2 separate regions of the Homo sapiens genome follow, and region 1 is linked to region 2. Evidence: promoter capture Hi-C in human tissues and cell types (Jung and others, 2019). All regions are on one chromosome and are shown on one strand. The core of a region is centred on a gene start or on the middle of the fragment in contact, and the rest is flanking DNA. Distances in the headings are between cores, read along the strand shown.

Region 1 (4,057 bases), core at 1,061-3,560, 170 kb before region 2:
GCCTCCAACAACACACTCTCAGCCCAGGGCAGGAAGCCCCGGCTGGCTGGCTGGGGTCGGCCTGAGGCCTGCAAACAGCTGGGACCAGTAGGGCGGGGGGCGTTTCCTGCCGGCCTTTCCTGCCTGGCTACAAGCAGCCCCCGTTCCAGGGGCTCTCCAGGGGTACAGCCCTGTCCACCTAGCACTCAGCACTCTGCTCCGTGAGCACACGTGCGGGCTGCACCCCTTCCAAGGGAGGGGGTTCTGGGCTGTGAAAGTAGGGCCTGTGGGGACGCTGTGGAGTCTGAGTTCAGCTGACCCTGGTCTGGACTCTCCATCCTGGGCTGACGGGGTGGCTCCTGGGGCCCAAGGGCTCAGTCTGGGGCCCAGCTGGTCAAGCTCCCCCAGCCCACGGAAATGAGAACCGGAGAACAAGCTTCTCTGTTCTGGAGAGCCGGGGGATCCCGGGAGCAACCTGAGGCCGCTCAGACTCTGGTGTTGTGGGGCCCGGCTGGCTGAGCACCAAGGGGCGGCTGAGTTGGGGGGGAGGGGGGGACTCTGGCTGATCTCTGCGTGACCGAGTCGCAGAGGCGAATTTTACTCCTGTCTTACAGAGATGGAGCCTCCCTTGGATGCGTCCGGGTCTCACACAGACCCCCTTAGCCCCATTGCCTTGGCTGGGCTGCCCTCCGTGCAGCGCGTAGGAGAGGCCTCATCAGCTCACAGCCCTGACTGTGGGCTCCCTGCTCACGGCCTTCCTGGCCCCACTGCCCTGCCAGGTGTCTAAGCCCTCTGTGGTCAGGTATAACCTTCCTCAACTCCTGCCTTGAGAGCTGTTCCCTGTGCCCCTTGAGCCCCCAAGTCTGGCCAAAGGCTCCAGGGCTTGTGGCACAGCCTCCTCCAGGAAGTCCCCCAGGCTGCCCTGAGATCAAGCCTCCCAGATGGTGCTGCCCTGATTCTGTCCCCAGAGCTGGAAGCAGGCAGCCCTGTCAGAACCTGCTGGGTAAACTTGGGGTCCTGCCGGCACCGACAGGGCCTGGCCCCCACCCTCATCCTCTGGTGAAAAGGATATCTGCCGTCCGTGTTTGTCCACTGACAGGGGCCGGCGGTGTGGGGAGCCGAGCCGGCCACGCTCCCGGTACACCCTGTCCACCAGCCCATGGTGCCGGGTGGTCCGGCTGGTGTCCAGGCCCGAGGATTGGAAGGGGGTCTGGGGGAGGAGGAGATGGAAACAGAGAGAGAGAAATCCAAACAATGGTTACCAGCTGTGGCCCCAGCGCTGGCCCCAGAGTCTGATCGCAGGGCCCCCCACTCTGGAGCACCCTCGGCCATCGCTCCACAGCCTGGGATGGGCTTCTTCCTTCAGCCCCAGCTCCCTGGCTCTCCAAGCACTGGGGGGTAGGGAGGGGGTGTGAGCTGGGGTCCCGGGAGCCAGGGTGGCAGGGGCGTGCAGTGCAGCTGGCATGCACAGGCCAGGCAGAGCGGCACAAGCTCGGGGCCAGCGCCCGCCGGGTGCCAGGGATGTAGCCGGCCTAGGCAGCCCTCCTCCCCAGTCTCACCAGGTGCAGACAGGCCTCCGCCCTCTCTCTCCGGGCCTGGACGGCCTCCTACCCCCACCTACGTCATCCCTGGAGGGGCCTGCCAAGAGACAGCCCAGGGGCTTCCAGCCCAGGACTGTTTCGGGGCCCACCTGGCCAAGCGCGAGTTCCTGGGAGGCTTCCTTGTGGAGCCCAGGGCTGCTCTTGATTGAGACGCGGCCCCCACACACCCTCCCCCGCAGCCTCCTCCAGGCACTCCAGGCACCACCAGAGCCAAGTACAGGCGCCTTCCGGAGCCATGGCCCACTGCTTGGCTGGATGGGGCTTCCTCCCAGCACCTGGGGCTGGCACCAGGCTGGCCCTCCCCAGGCCCTGCTACATGCCCGGCCTCATGCCCCCGGGGCTGCCAGGAGCCCGCCCTGACCCTGTGTTGCCCACTTGCCATCTGACTGGGGTGAGATCAGCAGGCTCTGCCAGCTTTGGATGCAGCCAATCCCCCAGTCCGGCCATCTGGCCCCTGAGCCCTTATGCCTTCTCTGGGCAGCCGGGCAAAATGAGACTCTGATACTAAAGTGAGTCTCCTCTCCAGAAGCCTGTCCATGGCTAGGATTGCTGCTTTGTCCCAGCCTCGGCCAGAGTTCAGGGCTGACTACTGTCCCCAGCCCTGGGGACCCCCAAGTCTTTCTTCGATCCAGCATGAACTCTGCTGGTTTGGGTCTTTCCGTGGCTCTTGCCCCCAAAAGGCTGTGGGCATGGGAGACGTGGGCCTGTGACGATGAGGGTGGGAACTGTGCTGTCCAGTGCACAGGCTCCTCAGGGTAGGGGCAATTCATCTCCTTCCAGAGATGCCTTGAAGCCCAGAGGGAAACTGAGGCAGCCAAAGCCAAGTCAGAGGCAGAATGAAGCGGGGGCTGGCCACACCCGGGCTCGCCACGTCCTGCCTGCTGGCCTGGTTTGGGAGATGCGTGCACACGTGTGTGTATGTGTGTGTGTGTGTGTGTGTTTGTGTGTGTGTGTATATAGGGACGGACCATGCAGCTTTGGGGCACATGCTGGGATTCTGCTCTGCTGGACCCCAGATGGGGATGCGCGGCTATGGCATCTGCCCCAGATGGACCCCAAGAGTCCCCAGGGCCTCTCGACGCGACCATACGCACTTCCCGAGATGGGGGTGCGGAGTGGATCCATTTCCATTTGGCGGACGGGACACCTCCACCTCCCTGGGAGCCGCAGGGGCGGCCGCTTGGGGAGCTCAGGGATCCCCAGCGCCCGCACACGGGTCGGGGTCTTGCAGGCTGGCGCCGGGGACGCCGCGGCCTCAGCCTGGGGGCTCATTTACCAGAGAGACAGGAGCCGCTGCCAGGGCCTCCCCCAGAAATCCGCTGGGCTGAAAATGCAAAGAACCGAGACTTTGAGACGCTGCTGCCTTGCCTGGCCCCAAAGGCGGGATGCGTGGGACCTCCCCCCGGGCTGTGGGCCTCGGGCGACAGACACCCAACAGGGTCCTGTGCCCCTCAGCCCCACTCAGGCTGAGCTTGCAAGGTGCCCAGAGAGAGACTCTCCTCCAGGGAAGAGGGGACAGGAGAAACAGGAAAGGGAGAGAAGGGCAGGAGGGGAGAAAACCTGGCCAGGAAGGGCTGTGACAAAGAACACGCCCAGCATCAGTGATGGCCCGCACTCTGTATGCCGGAGGAGGCGCACCGTGGTGGCCAGCCCAAGGATCCCTGCCCTGTCCAGCGGCGGTGCAGGTGGCGGTGGAGCTGGTGGGTGACTTGGGAGGGGCCCCGGCTCCATCTGGCCTGTCAGTGGCCATGGCTGTGTCCGAGGTGGTTTTCTCAGCCACAGAGTAGGTGTGACCCCCCCCCAGGGGGACCTGTCCATGCAGAGCCCAGACACCGTCCTGGGGGTGGCCCTGATTCATAGGCCAGCTCCCTCGGCCCCACCCCATCCCCATCTCCACCCGCAGACCAGGGACAGGGAAGAGGGCCGCTGTGGGCCTTATCTCCTGTTTACGATAAGGCTGTGCACGGCGGCTGTGCGGCCTGCGGGAGCCGCGCTGTGTGGGCCTCTGCCAAGAAACGTTTGCAGACAAGTGGGGTCAGGCCGCCGGGCCTCCTTCTGAGAATTGCTGGGCTTGCGGATTAGTGAGGCAGGACAGAGCCAAGCCCCAGTGGCCCCGAGCGGTTCCCGCTGCCGCACAGCCGGCCAACAGGTGTAGCGGCTGCCGAAATGCTGGAGGCCAGATGGAGGGCTCGCCTCGGGGTCTGCTGATGGGGAATGGGCTGCGGGGGCACCCTGGTGGGGCCACTCTGCTTCCTCTGGTTCCCAGGGCAGACAAGGAGAAGGCAGTGGTTGGGTGGGCTCCGCCAACTGTCTGATAACCCCAGCTGTCCTCAATGTCTGGCCCCCAGTGGGAGGCTGGGGGAAGCTCCCCACAATGGGGCAGGGCCAGGGGGCGGGGCACTCACCTGGAAGGGCAGGTCCATGGTGCCACTCCCGATCTGGTTCACGTTGGGCAGGGACCCGCCATAGTACTGGCC
Region 2 (3,875 bases), core at 336-2,835:
AGTTCACAGCCAGAGCCCCCACACCCAGCCCTACTCACCCTCCTTGTCTTGAATTTTGGCTTTGACATTCTCAATGGTGTCACTGGGCTCGACCTCAAGGGTGATGGTTTTGCCAGTGAGGGTCTTCACAAAGATCTGCATGTTTGCGTCTGCAGGAGGAAGGGAGGCAGGATAGACTGGTGAGCAATGCATGCCTGAGTAGCACAAGCTCAGGTGCCTACACCACAGTTGCTATCCCTTTGCCTGCACCAAGTCCAACTGGTCCTGCCCCAGTACCTGTCTTCCTTTCACTCCTCCAAGCCTGGCCCTGCTAGGCTTCTCACACACCCTGGCCTGTAGTCTAAACATGTCCTGGAACTAAAGACCACATGTCCTCCACCCTCCTGACCGCACGGGTGCTCTTCAGGAACACAGACTGTGGTTATTCTCCTTAGGTTTAGCGGCGGAAGGACTCGTCAGTATCTCCTGATGGAATAAGTACCCTTTGGCATCATCTTGCTAGATCCATCTTCCCTGAAGGCGGTCCCACCCTCTTCCACGGCAGCCAGGTCCTGATCTGCACAGGCTGCTCCTGCTGCCAGCCTGGATGGGAAGCCATCCCCTACAACACACATGCCTTCCTGTCGCAGCCTCTCTCCTCTCTAACTCCAAGCTGGAGCACCCAACACTCTTAGCTTCCTTCTCAATTACACCAAAACTCTCCAGACCCCACTTCTTGCCTTGACCCCAAACCACGAACATCACTTAGTATCTACCAACCACCTGCCAAGCATTGTTCACATATAAAAGTTGACTTAAAAAGACAAAGAATCGACCGGGCGCAGGGGCTCATGCCTGTAATCCCAGCACTTTGGAAGGCCGAGGCAGACGGATCATTTGAGGTCAAGAGTTCAAGATGAGCCTGGCTAACATGGTGAAACTCCGTCTCTACTAAAACTACAAAAATCAACTGGGCGTGGTGGCAGGCGCCTATAATCCCAGCTACTCGGGAGGCTGAGGCAGAAGAATCGCTCGAGCCCGGGAGGTGGAGATTGCAGTGAGCCGAGACCGCACCACTGAACTCCAGCTTAGGCGACAGAGCAAGACTCCATCTGAAAAAAATACAAATAGTCTAAAGAAAAGTCTAAAAAGCAGACACTACCACCAGCTCCTCCTTACAGACGTAGTAATGGAGCCAGGTATGAAGACTCAGCTCGAGAAATTTAGTATTTCCAAAGCGACTGACGCAGTGACTGGCAGAGTTAACGCTACACGCTCAATACCCCTCTCTCATTAACTCGGATCTGCCCCGAGGACCTCTTCCCGCCCGAGGCCTCGTGGGGTCACGCTGGCAGGCAGAGCAGGCAGGCTCCTCTCCAAAACGGCGCTCGCCTCCTGGGCCCCGGTCTGGGCTCCGAGCCGTGGCCTCGCGAGCCCTGCCCAGCCACCCTGCCGAGACTGGCCCGCATGAGCCAGCTCAGGGCCGCCTCTTCTGCCGCCCAGGCCCCTGCAGCCTCCCGCAGCCCCCAACCCGCTCTCGGCCCGGCGCGAACCCGCACGACCGCCGCCACCAACCAGCTCGGCCGCCTCGCTGAAGAAAAAGAAGATAGCGGAACCGGAAACCACCTAATCGCCGCCGAAAGCGCTTGCGCACGGAGCACGCCGGACGCCTGCGTCACAATTCGCGCCGCGCCTTGGGCCCCGCCCTGCCGCCATCTTGGATGCTGGCGAACGAAGCCGCAGCGCACGTGGGTGAAGGTCGCCCACCCGCTTCCGGTTGTGGGCCCCGCCCGCCGAGTCACTTGAGACGATTGCACCTCTCCCCGTGTTTGCGTCCGCTGCCTCTAGGCCACTGACAACCGCTGGCGGTTGGCGGGCCCTCAGCGAATAGCTGAACGGAGTAGAGGAGAATGTTTTCTAATAAAGCAAAGGTATTAAGCAGAGGACTGCGGGTCCAGGACGCAGGAGTCGGGGCTGGGAAAGCACCTAACACCTGGAATCGGTTATTATAAAGCTCTCGGCCGCTGTGCCTGAATGGATTTCAGGACAGCAGCAGGGAGAGCAGACGGTACTACCGCATTCGCCCAGAAAGGTGGTGGTGCCTGACAAAAGGTGTCAAGCGGGACTCAGGATTTTTTTTTTTTTTTTTTTTGAGACGGAGTTTCGCTCTCGTTGCCCAGGCTGTAGTGCAATGGCGCGATCTCGGCTCACCGCAACCTCCGCCTCCTGGGTTCAAGCAATTCTCCTGCCTCAGCCTCCCGAGTAGCTGCGATTACAAGTGTGCGACACCATGCCTGGCCACTTTTGTATTTTTAGTAGAGACGGGGTTTCTCCATGTTGGTCAGGCTGGTCTCAAACTCGCGACCTCAGGTGATCCGCCCGCCTTGGCCTCCCAAAGTGCTGGGATTACAGACGTGAGCCACTGCAGTGTCTCTTTTCAGTGTAGGATCCAGATTTGTGGGTGGTTAAAAAGTGCCAGGGCGGGACCTGGGTCCGGTGACTCACGCCTGCACTTTGGGAGGCCGAGATGTGCGGATCACCTGAGGTCGGGAGTTCGAGACGAGCCTGACCAACATGGAGAAACCGCATCTCTACTAAAAATACAAAATTAGCTGGGCGTGGTGGCGCATGCCTGTAATCCCAGCTACTCAGGAGGCTGAGGCAGGAGAATCGCTTGAACCCGGGAGGCAGAGGTTGCAATTAGCCGAGAGAGTGCCATTGCACTACAGCCTGGGCAACAAGAGCAAAACTCCGTCTCAAAAAAGAAAAAAAAAATTACAAAAATTTTTCAGGTGTGGTGGCGGGTGCCTGTAATCCCAGCTACTCAGGAGGCTGAGGCAGGAGAATCGCTTGAATCCGGGAGGTGGAGGTTGCAGTGAGCTGAGTTCACGCCACTGCACCCAGCCTGGGTGACAGAGTGAGACTCCATCTCAAAAAAAAAAAAAAAAAAAAAAAGTGCCACGGCGGGTGCAGTGGTTCACACTTGTAATCCCAGCACTTTGGAAGGTCAAAGAGGGAGGATTACTTGAGGTCAGGAATTCACGACCAGCCTGGAAGACATAGTGAGACCCTGTCTCTACAAAAAAAAGTTTTATTTTGAACTATCCAGGTGTGGTGGTGCGCACCTGCAGTCCCAGCTACTTCGGAGGCAGGAGGATTGCCTGAACCCATAGGTTTGAGATTGCAGTGACCCATGATTCAGCCACTGCACTCCAGCCTGGGCAACAGAGAGGTGCTGTCTCAAAAACAAAACAAAAAAAAAAAGTGCTGAGTACAGAGAAGATGGGGAGCAATGAGAAGTTACCTATAGGCTTAACAGGGGTACCTGTTTATTTCCTTGAACATTTGCAGGCACTACTATACCAGGCAAAAGCAGACACTCTCACGTCTGGGAAGATGCCTTTAAGAACCTAATTTCCTTTTCTTTTTTGAGACAACAGTTTTGGTCTTTTTGCCCAGGCTAGAGTGCAGTGGTGCGATCTTGGCTCACTGCAACCTCTGCCTCCTGGATTCAAGCAATTCTGCCTCAGCCTCCCAAGTAGCTGGGATTACAGGTGTACACCACCACACCCAGCTAATTTTTATATTTTTGGTAGAGATGGGGTTTCACCATGTTGGCCAGGCTGGTCTCGAACTCCTGACCTCAGGTGATCCACCCACCTCGGCCTCCCAAAGTGCTGGGATTACAGGCATGAGCCACCAAGCCCGGTCATAACAACATAATTTCTAAGTACTCAGAAGATGAGGTAACCCTGGGAGTGTGTCTGATGGGGAATGGATCTAGTGTGGCTCCCCTATCTGGAGGAAGGCTGAGATCTGGAGAAGGAATTATGAAATGAGGATGGGAACACTAGTATTGTGAGCAGTGACAGCAGCGTGAGGGAAGACCTAGCTGG

Evidence for each region. Contacts are between HindIII fragments. The study calls those that stand out against the background at their distance.
Region 1: a fragment that was not itself captured here is called in contact with the fragment with the promoter of UBA52 in region 2 in 1 of the 25 tissues and cell types used here (mesenchymal stem cells).

What each region holds. Positions count from the first base shown.
Region 1 is chr19:18,742,955-18,747,011 of GRCh38, reverse strand. CRTC1 (CREB regulated transcription coactivator 1) reads right to left here. Exons shown (of 14, transcript NM_015321.3): 2 at 3,986-4,057; 3 at 1,052-1,189. Among named protein-coding and RNA genes, the nearest start is that of COMP, 46 kb to the left of the region's middle. The HindIII fragment of the contact is 7,147 bases long and covers 1-4,057 here.
Region 2 is chr19:18,569,567-18,573,441 of GRCh38, reverse strand. UBA52 (ubiquitin A-52 residue ribosomal protein fusion product 1) reads right to left here and starts at 1,585. Exons shown (of 5, transcript NM_001033930.3): 1 at 1,533-1,585; 2 at 39-149. The coding sequence starts at 141. RefSeq lists enhancers at 220-896, 1,535-1,874, 2,085-2,204, 1,575-2,251. The HindIII fragment of the contact is 7,230 bases long and covers 1-3,796 here.